2 separate regions of the Homo sapiens genome follow, and region 2 is linked to region 1. The links are contacts of gene promoters, found by promoter capture Hi-C in human tissues and cell types (Jung and others, 2019). All regions are on one chromosome and are shown on one strand. Each heading gives the region's core, a stretch centred on a gene start or on the middle of the fragment in contact. The rest is flanking DNA. Distances are from core to core; before and after follow the strand shown.

Region 1 (6,664 bases), core at 4,029-6,528:
GAGTCTAAGAGCCAGTGCATTGAGGGCATCAGCCGGCTCATCTGCACTGCCAGGCAGCAGCAGAACATGCTGCGGGGTGAGCACCACCGGCCCCGGGGTCTGTAGAGTGGGACGTAGGTGAGAGCACAGCAAGGCTGCTTTGGAGCCCAGCCTAGGAGCTGCGGGTGTCTCGCTGTGACACGCACATTCCACGATTCAAGGTGCAAGCACATTCGATGAAGCCCTCAGTGAGGCTGACAACCTTCCAAATGCTGAGAAAGAATTTTTTTTCAACCCTTTTTGCTTTTTAAAAATAATGACTTGTTTCGTTTTTCTTGTTTGTTTTTTGTTTTGGTTTTTTTTTTTTTGAGACAGAGTTTTGCTCTTGTTACCCAGGCTGGAGTGCAATGGTGTGATCTCAGCTCACTGCAACTTCCATCTCTCAGGTTCAAGCGATTCTCCTGCCTGAGCCTCCCAAGTAGCTGGGATTACAGGCGCGTGCCACCACGCCCGGCTAATTTTTTGTATTTTTAGTAGAGATGGGGTTTTACCGTGTTGGCCAGGCTGGTCTCAAACTCCTGACCTCAGGTGATCTGCCTGCCTCGGCCTCCCAAAGTGCTGGGATTATGGGCGCGAGCCACCGCACCTGGCCTAAAAATAATGGCTTGTAGTTTAAAAGTGTTGGCTGAGCGCAGAGGCTGAGGCAGGAGAATGGCGTGAACCCGGGTGGCGGAGCTTGCAGTGAGCCGAGATTGCGCCACTGCACTCCAGCCTGGGTGACAGAGCAAGACTCCGCCTCAAAAAAAAAAAAAAAAAAAGGGGTTTTGGAGAAGATACTCTGCAAGTAACTGTTTCAGAAACGGAGCTCTGGGAGGCTTTCCTCTTTTTGAGCACGGGTCAGATGACCTCCAGGTCGACGTGGCCCTGTCTCCCCACAGGGGTCTCTGTTTTAAGGGGGCTCCCACTGTCTTCTTCCCACACCTGTGCAGGTGGAAGTGGATGTGGACGAGCAGCGCCTGGCGGAAGGTGGTGGGGTCTGCTCCTTCCACCTGCAGGCAGCCCTGGGGGAAATGCTGCCCTCCCCACCCCCCAGGGCTCTGAGTGTGGAGGGCAGGGGCAGGAATGGCGTCCCTCAGGAGCCAGCATGGCCCTGGAGCCCCCGAGTCCCTGAGGAAAGTGTTGATGCCCTCCAGCATGGGGCTCCTTCTCATCCTGTACGCCCGGCTGCCACCCAGCCTGGTGGGCCAGGCAGGCAGGTGGATAGGGTGGGCAGGCCGGGCAGGGGGGCAGGCGGTCAGGCAGCCCTCTCCCACAGTCCTCATCGACGGCGTGGAGTGCAGCGACGTCAAGTTCTTCCAGCTGGCCGCGCAGTGGTCCTCGCACGTGAAGCACTTCCCCATCTGCATCTTCGGACACTCCAAGGCCACCTTCTAGCCCCACCCACCAGGGGGCCCACCTCCTGCCCCATGCTGTGAGGGGCCCAGCTGCATTTCTGTTAACATTTCAGTTTACTACAGAGACAGACGCTTAAAACACAAAGAGAAACAGTCTTAAGTATGAATGTGCTCACAACGTGGAAACTAACGGGGGAGCTCCTGCCAGGAGCCGAATAACTGCTCTGCTTATTAACCCGAACGTTCGGCCCGGGGCTGGGAAGCCAGAAGGACGATGCTGAGCCATGGATCGCGGAAGGCGTCCTCTGGCCTCAGGAGCCACCCAGAGCCTCACAGGCTGAGTTCTTGCCTCTGTGTCCTGTCCTTCCTGGAAGTCAGGACTCTGCTTCCTCAGGGAGCCCGGGGAAGGCGGAGCTCAGTGGCCACAGGCCGAGGGCCATGGGGCCGCTCAGTCCCGTTGGGGTTGTCCTGAGTTGAGCCTGGGGGGGCCGTCCTGCCCGCCTAAGAGATGCCCCCAGCACCGCACACTCGTGGTTCCCAATAAACTCCTGCCTGCGGCGGAGGTTTTATAGCAGCAGATATTTTTAATGCTTTTCAATACATGTTCTAATGTAGCTGCCAAACATGTTGCTCTTCTGAAGTCCCCCTGGGGCTGGGCAGAGCCAGCAGAGCCTGCCCCCACTTCCCCAGCCCCTGCCCCACCCCGCCTCACACCTTCCCCACTCTCAGGCTGTTCTTGAAACACCATGAGGCTTCTGCGTGTAGTCCCTGCCCCAAACTTAGCAAGCACAGGGGCCTCCACAGCCCAGGTGGCCCCAGAAAATGTTCCAGAGCCCAGCTTGGTACATAGTGAGATGCTGCTGGGGTTGGCCTGAGGTGGGGGCCACTTCCTCCACCCCAGTGGGTATGTCTGAGGTCAGCCATGGGGATATCTGGGTTGAGATTCAGGTTTTGGTGAATATGGGGCAGGCGTCCAGATGTGTTTGTGTCACCTGCTGCAACGCTGTAGCCAATGAAGATTCCAGCGGGATGGCCTGACCAGCGGGGCCGGCACTTTGGAGCCGTGGGTGCAGCCAGGTACCCCGTGCAGGGCCTGGGAGGCTCTCCAGGCCACAGTCCTCAGAGCGTGTTGGGTCCCATGTTGTGTGTGGGTTCCATGCCCTCCACACAGCAGGAGAGGGCTTCCCTGACCACACCTGCCCCCTCAGTCCTGCTTCTCCCCAGTAAGCCTGCACTGTGGGGTCTCCATAGGAGGAGCTGGGGAAGCTGGGGCCCTCCCAGGGGTCCTGATCGACCCTGGGGGCTCTTGGCCTGGTTTCGTAAGATGGAGCACTGCAAAAGGCCATGCTCAGAAAGCAAACGCAGGGCAGGGTGGGCCTCGAGCCGGGGCTGGAGGGGTCTCCACCCTTGCTGGCCTGAGAGATGGCCCACATTTCTTACTTGTGACCGCCCTGCTCTTCCTGGCCGCCCCCCCCAGGTGGCTGAACAGGGTGATTTTGTTGTGGTGAGGGGCCAGGATGTGGCCTGGTGTGCAGCCTCAGCTCCCTGGGTTCAGGCCTCAGAGGTAGCCTGTGTGCAGGAGGCAGAGCCCCAGCCCCTCCCAGCCAGAGCCCCTCCACACCAGGGACTCCTCCTTCACCTGGGACCAGGAGCCTGGGGCACACCCCAGGGTGGGGGAGAGGGTAGGAAGGTCTCCCATTGAATCCTGGCTTCAGGCTCTGCCCCGAGAAGTGTCTGCGGTGAGGGTGTGAGCCCCGGGCTGATGGCCTCTGACCCCGGCAACAGGTGGGACCCTGACTGACTCGTTCAGCTGCCCCCAAGCTGGGCTGCAGAGCATCTGTTTTTCTGCTCTCCAGTTTCTTTTCTTTTTTTTTTTTTTTTTTTTTGAGATGGAGTCTTGCTCTGTTGCCCAGGCTGGAGTGCAGTGGCATGATCTCAGCTCACTGCAGCCTCCGTCTCCCAGGTTCAAGCAGTTCTCCTGCCTCAGCCTCCCGAGTAGCTGGGATTACAGGCGTGTGCCACCACACCTGGCTATTTTTTTTGTATTTTTAGTAGAGATGGGGTTTTGCCATGTTGGCCAGGCTGGTCTTGAACTCCTGACCTCAAGTGATCCACCCGCCTCGGCCTCCCAAAGTGCTGGGATTACAGGCGTGAGTCACCGCGTCCTGCCTGCTCTTCCTGTTTCTTTCCCAAGGGTCACACTCAGTAGGGAGATGAAGGTGGAAACATCCTTGCTGTGGCTTTCTGGCCTCAGAGCAGGTTTTAGAGGAAGGGGCCACAGGCTGCCTAGTGCATCCTGGCTGTGGGCAGCCCCTTTCCTGGAGCCCTCCTGCCTACCCCGTACCTCCCATCTGGCTGCACAGCTCCATCCTTAGCCACGCAAGGGGAGAACATGGGCAGAGTCTCCATCCAGCAGCTGGGGGTTCTGGTGGCACTCCCTGTGCCCCTGCTGCTGCTGGGCTGTGGGTCTGCCCTGCACCCAGGAGCCCCACGGTCCATCCCCCACACCATGCCCAGCACCAGGGAGGTTGGGCAGACAAGACCTGGGCCATGCCAGCCCTCTGTGCCTCGGTTTTCCCACTGGTTACACAGGATGGTCGCATTTTCCCTGCCTACCTCACAGAGCTGTTCTGAGGGTGCATGGAGGAGCACTCTGTCCCACCAAGGACAACTAGAAACCAAAGCCATCTGACAGCCAGTGCGGTAAGGGCGGGGGATGTGTGTGTGAGGTGTGCACACCCCCCGAGAACCTGGCCCTGGACTGGCCTCACAGGACAGGAGGCAGCCCCTTGTAGAGCTAGGGCTCAGCCCCATCAGTCTCAAAGGTTAAGCCACCAGTCACCACCGAGGCACCCCTCAGGCCTGGTGGCCACTGTCCACTATTACGTAGACAGACCCCACCCTCACCCAGGCCAGCTGTGGGCCAGTCCCGCCCTGCAATCTGGTCTGCTGCCTTCCTCTTCCATGTTGGTCCCCTTGGCCACTGTCTCTGGGCATGCAAGCCAGTGTCCTGGTTCAGTGCCTCGGCCAGAGCTGGGGCAGGAGAGGGGCCTCTGGGTGAGAGCTGGGGGTGTCTCTGCAGGGTACTGGCAGCCTTGCCACACTGTCCTCATTCCCAGATGGAAAGACCTGAGTGCCTCTCGCCTTCCTCCGGGAATGAATTCCTCATGAAAATGACCAGGCCACTTCTTCCGAGGGCCAGGCCGCCCCCTCCCCGAGACCTGTCCTGCCGTCCGCGGGTGTGTGGCCTGTAGGGGACTGAGAGCTGGGCTTGCTGGGCACCTCTGGAATCTGACCCTGTGGGCCAAAGAAGCACCACTGTAGTTTCTGCAGACCCCCATGCGGTTCATTGTGCATTGTTTGGTTTCTAGGATGTATGTGTTGCTAGTTTTTTTTAATGAAACCCTGGATTAATGTAAATAGCTTTTTGGGGAACGGATTCTAATGTCACGTATGTGACCGTGTGGACTATTTCAAGGTGCTGATGCAACACTAATAAACCTGGAGGGGCCGGCCCCCGCCTGCAGTGTGATTCTCTCGGCCGTCCACCCCTTGGGAGCACGCGGCGGAGCAGCGCCTCCCTCCCGCCCGCGCGCCCCGTCCTGGGTCGCCCCGCCCCAGCCCTGCGGCCCCGCGCGCGCGGAGGTGGCCCGGGGCTCAGCGGCATCGCGCCGCTTGAAGGGCGCAGGGCCGAAAGGGGCTCTGGCCGACAAACCCCAAGTTCAGGTCTGTGCTTCGGGAGACCCCGGAGGCCGACGCCCGGAAGGGCCCGTGGGGCGGTAGCGGCCATAGACCCGGATATGCGCCGGGGACCCCCAGACCGCGCCCATCCCCCACCCGCCGCAACGGAGCCCAGAACGCAGGCGCGGCGCAGACCGGAAGCGGAACCGGTGGGGGCGGGGCTTGCCGTAGCGGACGTTCTGGAGCGAGGCGCCGGCCCCTTGGGCCCCCTCAAGCCGCGGTGTACTCCAGCGGCCCCCTGTGGCCTCTCCATCCGCGGCGGGTCTGTCCCTCCTTCTGTCTCCGGGTGCCCACGTACCCCCCACCTCCGACCGCCGTTCCCGTGTACCCCGCCCCCCCGCCGAACCCCAGAGTGCCCACGGCCTCCAGCGTGTGTCCTGAGCCTTCTTCCCCCGTCCCTCCGCGGACCCCGGCCGCGCAGACCCCGCCTCCCCACCGGAGAGGGCGGGCACGTAAGGGCTCCGGGCTGGGCCTGGGGCGAGGCCTGGGCCGCGTGGAGGGGAGGTCTCAGGGTCGGAAGCGGGGCTGTGGCAAGAGCTCTGGGCCTTTCCTTCGCCCCGGGCGTAGCAAGGCCGGGCCCTGAGAGCGTGCCCGCAGTGCTGGCTGAGGGCTGATGCCCCTGGAACGTTTGAGAAGGCTGGCAGAGGCGTGGAGTCCGTGCAGCAGGCTGCCGAAGGCTTTCCAGGCTCCCGGGGTGGGGTCGGCAGGGGCAGAGAGGACAGTTCGGGAGGCTGGTGTGGAGAAGAGCTGCGGCGGGAGCTGGGGGATCCACTCCACCCAGAGGGGTCAGTGATGCCTGACCTTTGGCTGGAAGGTGACCCTAGCAGACCGCGATACTGCCACCATCTGCCCCCAGGGACTCAGGTATTGGTGGGCACGTGGGTGGCCTTGTGGGCCCCGCCCCACCTCCCCCTGCTCCTACCCCCAGATCTCAGAGGTGTGGACAAGCAGCCTACTAGGGCTAGAGATGGACAGCAGGAAACTGTCCCCCCGGGGGAAGAAGCTGGAGTCGCACCTCTCCCAAGAGCACAGGCGGCCCCCACTGGGCCTGATAGCAGCCTGGGGCCAGCCCAGTATCCAGAGCAGCGTTCAGCAGGGACTGCAGACTCAGGACTGGGTAAGCGGAAGGAAACCCTGGCCGAGGCTACTCTCCTGTCCCCAGCCCGCCTGAGGCCGCTGTCTCTGAAAACTCCAGGCTGGTCGTGATGAGCAGCCTCAGGGGAGGGCTGAGTGGGGACTGATGAGAAACAGATGGCTGGACTCAGGAGGCTCTCTTCCCCATGGCCCTGGACGAGCACCAAGGTGGACCTGCACCCTTCTTGCTTCCAGAACCGTGGGCCGCTGGGCTCTGTAGAGAGGTCTTCCAAGGCCAGGAAGGAGGCAAGGCAACACACTTCCCTTAGCTCTCCCCAGTGCCTCCCACCCCAGGCTGAAGGTGGCAAGAAGCGGGAGGGAAAGCAAGGTCCCCAGGGGGGGTGGTGTCCTCCCAACCAGGTGGGGCAGCTGTCAGGAGAAGGATTTGTCACTGAAAGTTGACCAAAACAAAATAG
Region 2 (7,230 bases), core at 2,407-4,906, 230 kb before region 1:
GCCAGCCAGGCAGGCACGACTTCCAGCTGCACCTCTGAGGGTGGGGCCCTGGCTGCCCAGGTCACGGCCAACTGCCACCACCCTGCTCCTCCCTCAGCCAGCAGGTGTCCCCTGGGCCTGCCACCTACCAGGCCCCAGAGCAAAGCTCCCTGCTGCCCCCAGCATGACACTACTCCTCCCCAAACCTCCATCACCACCTGCCATGCCTACAGAGCACCCGGGGTGCGTGCACACACGCAGCTGGGAGAATGTGGCCTCACCCTGCCAGCTACAAGCCAGGCACCAGAACCAACCCAGGCTGACACCGGCCTCCTGGGGACGTCTGGGGGTGGAGCCAGGAGAGGAGGGGCAGCCAGGCAGCCTGCTGGCATGTGGTCCACCACCTCTCCACATTCAAGACCCTGGGCCCACCCACTGAGGGAAGCTGAGCCCGAGACCAGCACAGATCCATGACTAATAGCACACAGACCCCGGCCACAAGAAGCCAGGCCAGGGGGCAGAGGGCCACCCAGCCAGGCCTGGGTCAACAGCAGAGACCACAAGGTGGGAGAGTCACTCAGGGGGCAGGGGGTGGAGGGAGCGAATGCAGAGCCCAGACTCCCCCACTCCTCTTCCACAAGGCCCTCTCATTCCCTTTACTCCAAGGAGCCCAAAAGCCCCACGGGCCTGGGCAGGATGCCACCCTAGCCTCCAGGCTGAAACCCCTCCTCAGGTCCCAGGGAGCCTGAACTCGGTCCTTGCCTTCCCATCACAGCCAAGTACACCTCAGCTCACCGCACAGAGCTGGACCTCAGCAAGCCAGGGCAGCATGGCCAGGGACTGCCGCCGCCCGAGTGCAAATACCAGGGTGCTGGCATCACGGCACAGCTCCCGCCCGGCAGCCAGGCCACATGGCAGGAGACCAGGGCTGCCCCCAAACACGCAGCTATGACTCTGCCCTGGCCCCCAACCCAGAGACAGGCCGCCTGCCCCCTCCTGGGGCATTCGAGGAACCGGCTGGAAGCAAGAGGCAGGGAGGTGAGCTGGCCCCGAAACCCAGTGCCCGGACTCCAAGGAAGGCAAGGGCCTACCCGGTCCCATCCCACACCTGACCGGCTGGCCCGCGGGGCGAAGAGCCAGGGCGGACACGCGATAGCCCGCCACATTCCTCCAAGACCTCCCTGCCCCCACACCCACTGCTGCCAACTCGAGCAGAAAACACATCCTCAGGTAGCGATGTGGGGCCACGCTGGCTCAGGCCCAGGTGCAGATGACAGGCTGCGGGCCCTGCTCAGACCTGCCTGCTGCACCGCCGTGGGGGCGAGGGGCTGGGCTTCTCACAACTGCCTGGGCCCTCCCATGCCCGCCCCTGCCTTTTCCATCTGGGGGACACTTTCCCCTCTCTGGGGCCCCCCTGGTCAAGGGATACTCGGCGGGGTGCTCACGGGTTGAGGACATGGCCAGAGGAGACTGTGGCCAGCTTCCACGGGTGGGAGCTCAGGAAGCGGTGAGGATGGGGGCAGCAGGCAAGGCTGCCAGCCAGGGCTGCAAAGGTACAGCACAGGACTGGGAGCCACACACGGCAGGCCCAACTGGCGTGAGCTCGGCAGGGATTGCCCTCAACTCACAATCACTTCAGGGCCCAGGATACCAGGTGGGCACACTCCGGTGCCTCCTGCTGACTGGAGCCACTTCCTGGCTCCCAGATCCATCTACTCCCTGATCACAGGTCTGCATGGTGCTCTCATTCCCGCACTCACCCAGTTCCAGGCCCCCAGCACAATGACCAAGCAGGGAAGGACCTCTGGGCACCAGGGCAAGGCCGTGCTCCAGGCAATGAGGTAAGGCGCCCGAGGCCTGGGCCTGCCCACCTACCACTACCCACCTGCCAGCCCACTGGGATGAGTACCTGTTTCCCAGTGACACTGGACCCCTACCACCCCTCCTCCCAGCACGCCCAGGCCAGGGCTCCTGCCTGACTGGCCACCTGCCAGGGGAGACCAGACAGCCCCGACTCAGCTTCTGCCCCTCCAGAATAACAAAACCAAAAAAACCCACAAACAGGGCAGTGCCACAGAAGGTCACTGCACCAGGATCCACTATCTCTGTCTCTGAACGATCTTGGGTCACCATCGGGGGCTTCTGCCGACATAAGCGTTAGGCGTTAGGCTCTCCCGGGCCTAGGTCCCACGGCGCCCGCCCGTGCCCCCCAGGCATCCAGGAAACTGCAGGGCAGGCGCAGGCTGGCCACGGGCCCGGGGCGGCTCAGTCAGGGCCTGCCCTAGACCAGCCCCAGCACGCGCTGCGCACATGCCACCGCGGCCTGCCCGGGACCGGGGCGCCTCGCCTCGCCTCCCCACCCAGACAGACACGCGCAGGGCGACGCAGGCACACGCCGCACACCGCCGCGCACGCGGGACGCCGCCGCCCCGCCCCCGCCGCGACCCCGCTCCCGGTGGCCCCGGGGCCCCGGCGCGCCCACGTGGCCAGGCGCGGACCAAGTCCCCAGAGCACGCGCCCCCTGCCGGCCCCGCCCCGCCTGGGCGCGCGCGGCTCGCACGCAGACCCGGCCGCAGGTGTTGGGGGTCGCGAAGCGCGCGGGGCCGGGGCGCGGAGAGAGAGGGAAGGGCTGGAGCACGAGGGATGGAGCGCACGTACCGGCCAGGCGAACTGGAAGGGGATGACGACGAGGCCCGGGTCCTGGTCGCCGCCGGCCCGGGCCCGCGCCCGCGCTCGGTCCCCCGCAGCGCCCGCCGGCGGCAGGTAGAAGGAGTTGCCGCCCAGCACGGGCGTGGCGCCGTGGCCGTAGCTGCAGGGCCCCGTGGGCGTCACCTTGGCCTGGTACTCCTTAAGGCACACGCGCACGTACGTGTCGCACTCGTCGTGGCCGCAGCCCCCCGCGCGCGTTGTCCGGCCGTCGCCGTCACAGCAGGCGCCGCTCAGCAGCTCCCCGTTCACGTTCCGCAGCGCGCTCAGCTGCAGCTCGAAATAGCCCATGGGCCGCGCCGCCTAAAAATAAGGCAGCGGGAGAGCGGAGGGAGGCGCGGGCCGGGGTCGGCGGGCCGGGCGCCAGGGGTGGGGGAACAGGCCCCGCCGCCCCGCCCCCACCCAGCCGCGCCCGCCCGGAGCCCCAGCCGCCGCGCGCAGCCTCGAGGGCTTCCGAACCACGGCGGCCCCAGGCAGTGCCCGCCCGGCCCCTAGGGGCGGCCCGGTGTGCCCCGTCCGCGACCCCCGCCGCCCCCGCCGCCCCGCTCACCTGCACCCAGAGCGCCAGCAGCAGCAGCAGCCGCCGGGGAAGGCGCCCCCGGCCCTGCGCCCGCATTGCCCCCGCGACCCGCCCGCCCGGCCCCGCCGCCGCCGCCCGCGCCCGGCTCCCAGCCGCCGCGCCGGCCTCCCAGCGCCCGCCCGCCCTCCGAGCGCCCGCAGAGGCAGCGGCAGCGGCAGAGGCGGCGGCGGCGGCGGCGCGGGCGGGGTCGAGCGCAGCGCCGCGGCGCGCGGGCCTGGGCGGCGGGCGTGCAGGGGCGGCGGCAGCTCCGGCTCGCTGGCGGCCGCGCTCCGGCTGCCCGGCCCGGCTCCCACCCGGCGGCGACGGCGGCGGCGGTGAAGGCAGCGGGTCCCGGCCTCGGCTCTGCGCGCCCGCGCTCCCGGCACCGCAGCCAACAAGTTCGGAACGAGACTGACAGCTCGCTCGCCCATTCGTCACCCGCGCACCTGCATATGCATGAGGGGGCGGGGCCGCGCCGCGGGGTGGGGCCGGGGGGGGGTCCGGGGGCGCCCCAGGCTTTAAAGGCGGTGGAGGGCGTCGCCTGCCAGCGCCCCGGCCCGGCGCGCGCCCCCCAGGGCGCCCGGGCGGCGGGGGCACGGGGCCTCGGGGTCAGCGCGGGCCGCGGGGGCCCCGCTCACACCTCCGCGTGAGTCGGCGAGGCGTGCGCCGGCGCCGCAAAGCTGCCTCCCCTCCTCCGCCTGGGCTCCTGCCGGGTGTCAGAAACCGGGGGTGGGGCGCCCCGAGGTTGCCGTGTGGTCCCCTCCCATCAGTGCGCCACCGCCGCGCTCCTCGCAGTCCCAGAGGAGATGCCGCCTCCTACTCTGATCAGGGCTCGGCCCCCACGCGGGGTGGCGCGGCCCTGGGGCCAGAGCCGGGCCCAGCCCCTACTGCGCGCCCCCCACCTCCTCCGAGAATCTCCCCTTCTCCGCGCCGCTCCTACCGCCTCCACGCCGGCTGCAGGGGGCGCTGCGCCCCTCCGACGCCCCTGCCTTCCCCTCTGCGAGGCGCGCTGGTCAAGCAGCCAGTCAACAAATGCTCCAGGGTGCAGACTGCTCAGCTCGGCGCTGGCGTCGAGGTAGCCAGGCCATGCCCTCAGGAAATGCTCAGGCCACATTCCCCGTTTCCCGCCTCTCGCCCCCCAAACTCAGGTCTGGGCTTGGGGGGCGAGAGGCGGGAAATGGGGAACAAAAGTCGGCAGTGCCTGTCCCTGAAGGCTACCCCGAGAGAGGCCTCCCACTGCTGCCCTGGTCACCAGGCTTCCACACCCCATCCTCTGCGGTCACCTCCTTGCCCTCTCCCTGGGTGACCTCGCAGCTCCTCCACAGGGTCAAAACCAATGGCACCTTCCTCTCCTCCAGTGAGCACGGTCCTTTCCAGAGCTAGGGGTCACCTTGGTGGTTAAAGATCCCCATATGGTCCAGAGGGGTCCTCAACCCATCCCCATGATAACTGAGCTGTCTTCTCTCCCCCTAGCTCCTCTCGCAAATTTGCCCTGTGCCCGGAGCTGGGTGGCTGTGCAGCCCCCCAGCCTGGAGCAAGTCACTGCCACCATGCTGCTGGGGCTGAGGGCTGAAGGAAGAGAGCTTTGGAGGCACAGGGCCTGTGAACACCCCATGCGCAGGGTCTGCCTGCTCCATCCCTGTTTAGCAGCTCCTCCAGGATCCAGGCCGCAGGCTCAGCTGAAGGTCCCTAAAGGGGTGGGTGGGAGCCCCCCATGCCCACCTCAGCTGGCTCTGCTCAGAGTGCCCACCCCAAACTTGGTGGTGGGTAGGCTTCGTGGGGATTAAGACACAAGCCAGGATGAGGCCCGCACAGAGACCCCCACCAAACAAGAGAATCCAAGCTGTGTTCAGAGCCTTCCAGTTGCCGCCTTCCGGTGTGTGGGCGGTGATTACCGCCTACGGGGGGAGGGGCTCCCTGTGGAGATGCCACCTCTCCTGTGCTTTGGCCTGGGGGCAGGTACTCGGGTACTCGAGAGAGGGAAGCCCCAGGACAGAGAAGCCCCCTGCCCGGCTCCAGAGGCCCAGGGCTCCATCCCCACCTGCGCCCACTGCCCCACTATGGTGGGGGAGGGGGTGCTGGGTGCCTCTGCTGGGCACTTGGCCAAGTGGTGAACAAGGGAGACTCCGCCCCTGCACACCCTCAGGAGCCCCCAGCCCGGGGGTGGACAGAGGACTTAGACAAGTCATACAGAAGCTGGCATAGGGGGCCGCCAGAGCGTGGACGGGCATGGGTCAGCCAGACCTCACGATGTCCATGAGAGCACCCAGGTCAGGAAGGTGGCCGCACCTGCCCTTAGGAAGGAGGGGGACATAGGAGGCATCGGAGAGGGGGTCCCTTCCCTGCAGGAATTTCAGCAGCCCTTGAGCCAGAAATGCCAGGCAGCTGGACCCTGGTTTGAGTTTCCAGAAGGCAGCAGTGGGAACCCTCGCCCCTCATACATATTTCACAAAACACATTTGCCCCCTGCTGCACCTTGCTGGGGTGAGGGGCTGAGATCAGTGGCGGCCAGGGCTCCAGCCCCAACCCTCACCAGACCAGGCTACCTGGTCTCTTCTAGTAAGGGACCTCGTCATTGTTCTGGGGCCCACTGGACCACAGCACCCTCCAGCCTCCCAGAGCCACCCGTCCCCCAGCCTGGAGGGCTCCCACTCTGAGCGCTGGGCGGTGCCCAGCTTGTATGCAGAGGGCAAGGGTGCAGCTGCTCAGCCTGGCCAGGGGCTCTGGGCCCATAGGGCAGTCCTGGGGACCAGGCTGAGGACGGGCTGCCAGGGGTTTGGACAGAGCCGGCGAGGCTCCAGAGTAAGCTGTGCTTCCGCTGGGTCCTGCAGTGCTAAATATAGCAGACGGGGAGGGGAGTTTCCGGTTACAACCCCCCCTCCAGTGCCGGGAAATCAATGCCAGCTCCATTAGGCCCGGCAGCACTGCCTGCTGACCCACCCCATCGGGCTGCGGAGCAAAGTGAGGGGCTGGACTACACCCAGGTCCGGGTGCCCTGTCACCTGTCCCCTCAGTGCTTCAGGGGCCAGACCCACCTGGTGCCTGCGAGAGGTCCCTCTGAGGTAGTGGGAGGCCTCTGCTGGTCAACCCGGAGGGCCCATCGCACTCTCGTGGTGTCACCAGGCAGGCTGCTGGTAAGGGCAGCACAGCAAGGCTGCTGTGGGTCAGGCAGAGCTCCTGTCCTGTGAATGTCCTGCTGGGGCCTCATCTGGGTAGAGTGAAGCTGAGGCTGGCCAAGACCCGCACACCCCATACCTGGCAGCCCCTCCCTGGCACACACCCCATACCTGACAGCCCCTCCCCGGCAGCCCTGTCGCTGGCCTTGCTGATGCCCACAGGGCCCCACCTGGGCCACAGCCAGCATTTGCATACAGGTGGCACTGCTTTTGTGGGCCCCTGAGGCACAGCCTCCTCAGGACAGCCTCCAATGCCAGGCTGTCCAGCACTGTGCTGGATGACAACAGGGGGTCAGTCTCCACCTCCCTGCCCAGGGTTCCACCCTGCAGGGTACTGAGGCTCCCTTCACTTCACTGTCCCCTTCTCTACTTTCCTCCTGGGAGCCACAGCCTGGACCTAATGATGTCCAGGAGCGGATCGATCCTGCCGCAGACTGATGGCCCAGCAGTGCCCTCGAATGCCCACAACCAGTGCCAACACACCCATTCACCTGCAGAACCCTTACTGTGCACCTGTGGCCCAGGAAGCAGACCAGGCGAGCTGGGTCCCCTCCTGCCTCACAAGCATTCTGGGCACCTGGGGAGCAGCTCTGAGCTGCACGCATCTCCCACAGCCCCACCCTCAGGACAGGTCAGAAGGCAAGGCCAGGGCATACAGGCCAGAGATGCTCAGGGGCCAGTAGAGCCTGGTGCTGGGCGGCCCAGGCTGAGGCCGTGCCCCGGGACCAGGACCGGGCTGGCACCAGGAACCTGGCCCATGTCAAGACCACTGGCCTTGTGTCCCCACCCTGTGCCGCCACCTGCTCCTCT

Evidence for each region. The method cuts DNA at HindIII sites, captures the fragments that hold promoters and counts their contacts. A contact is called where the count stands out against the background at its distance.
Region 2: a contact is called between the fragment with the promoter of JAG2 here and the fragment with the promoter of TEX22 in region 1, in 1 of the 25 tissues and cell types used here (H1 embryonic stem cells).

The regions. Positions count from the first base shown.
Region 1 is chr14:105,393,260-105,399,923 of GRCh38, forward strand. TEX22 (testis expressed 22) reads left to right here and starts at 5,279. Exons shown (of 4, transcript NM_001195082.2): 1 at 5,279-5,376; 2 at 6,043-6,231. The coding sequence starts at 6,082. PACS2 (phosphofurin acidic cluster sorting protein 2) reads left to right here. Exons shown (of 25, transcript NM_001100913.3): 24 at 1-76; 25 at 1,295-4,888. The coding sequence ends at 1,413. RefSeq lists a silencer at 4,792-5,701 and enhancers at 5,369-5,879, 5,880-6,390. The HindIII fragment of the contact is 31,919 bases long and covers 1-6,664 here.
Region 2 is chr14:105,165,120-105,172,349 of GRCh38, forward strand. It overlaps JAG2 (jagged canonical Notch ligand 2), which reads right to left and starts at 3,657. Exons shown (of 26, transcript NM_002226.5): 1 at 3,236-3,657; 2 at 2,638-2,988. The coding sequence starts at 3,301. RefSeq lists enhancers at 2,379-2,878, 5,527-6,363. The HindIII fragment of the contact is 20,950 bases long and covers 1-7,230 here.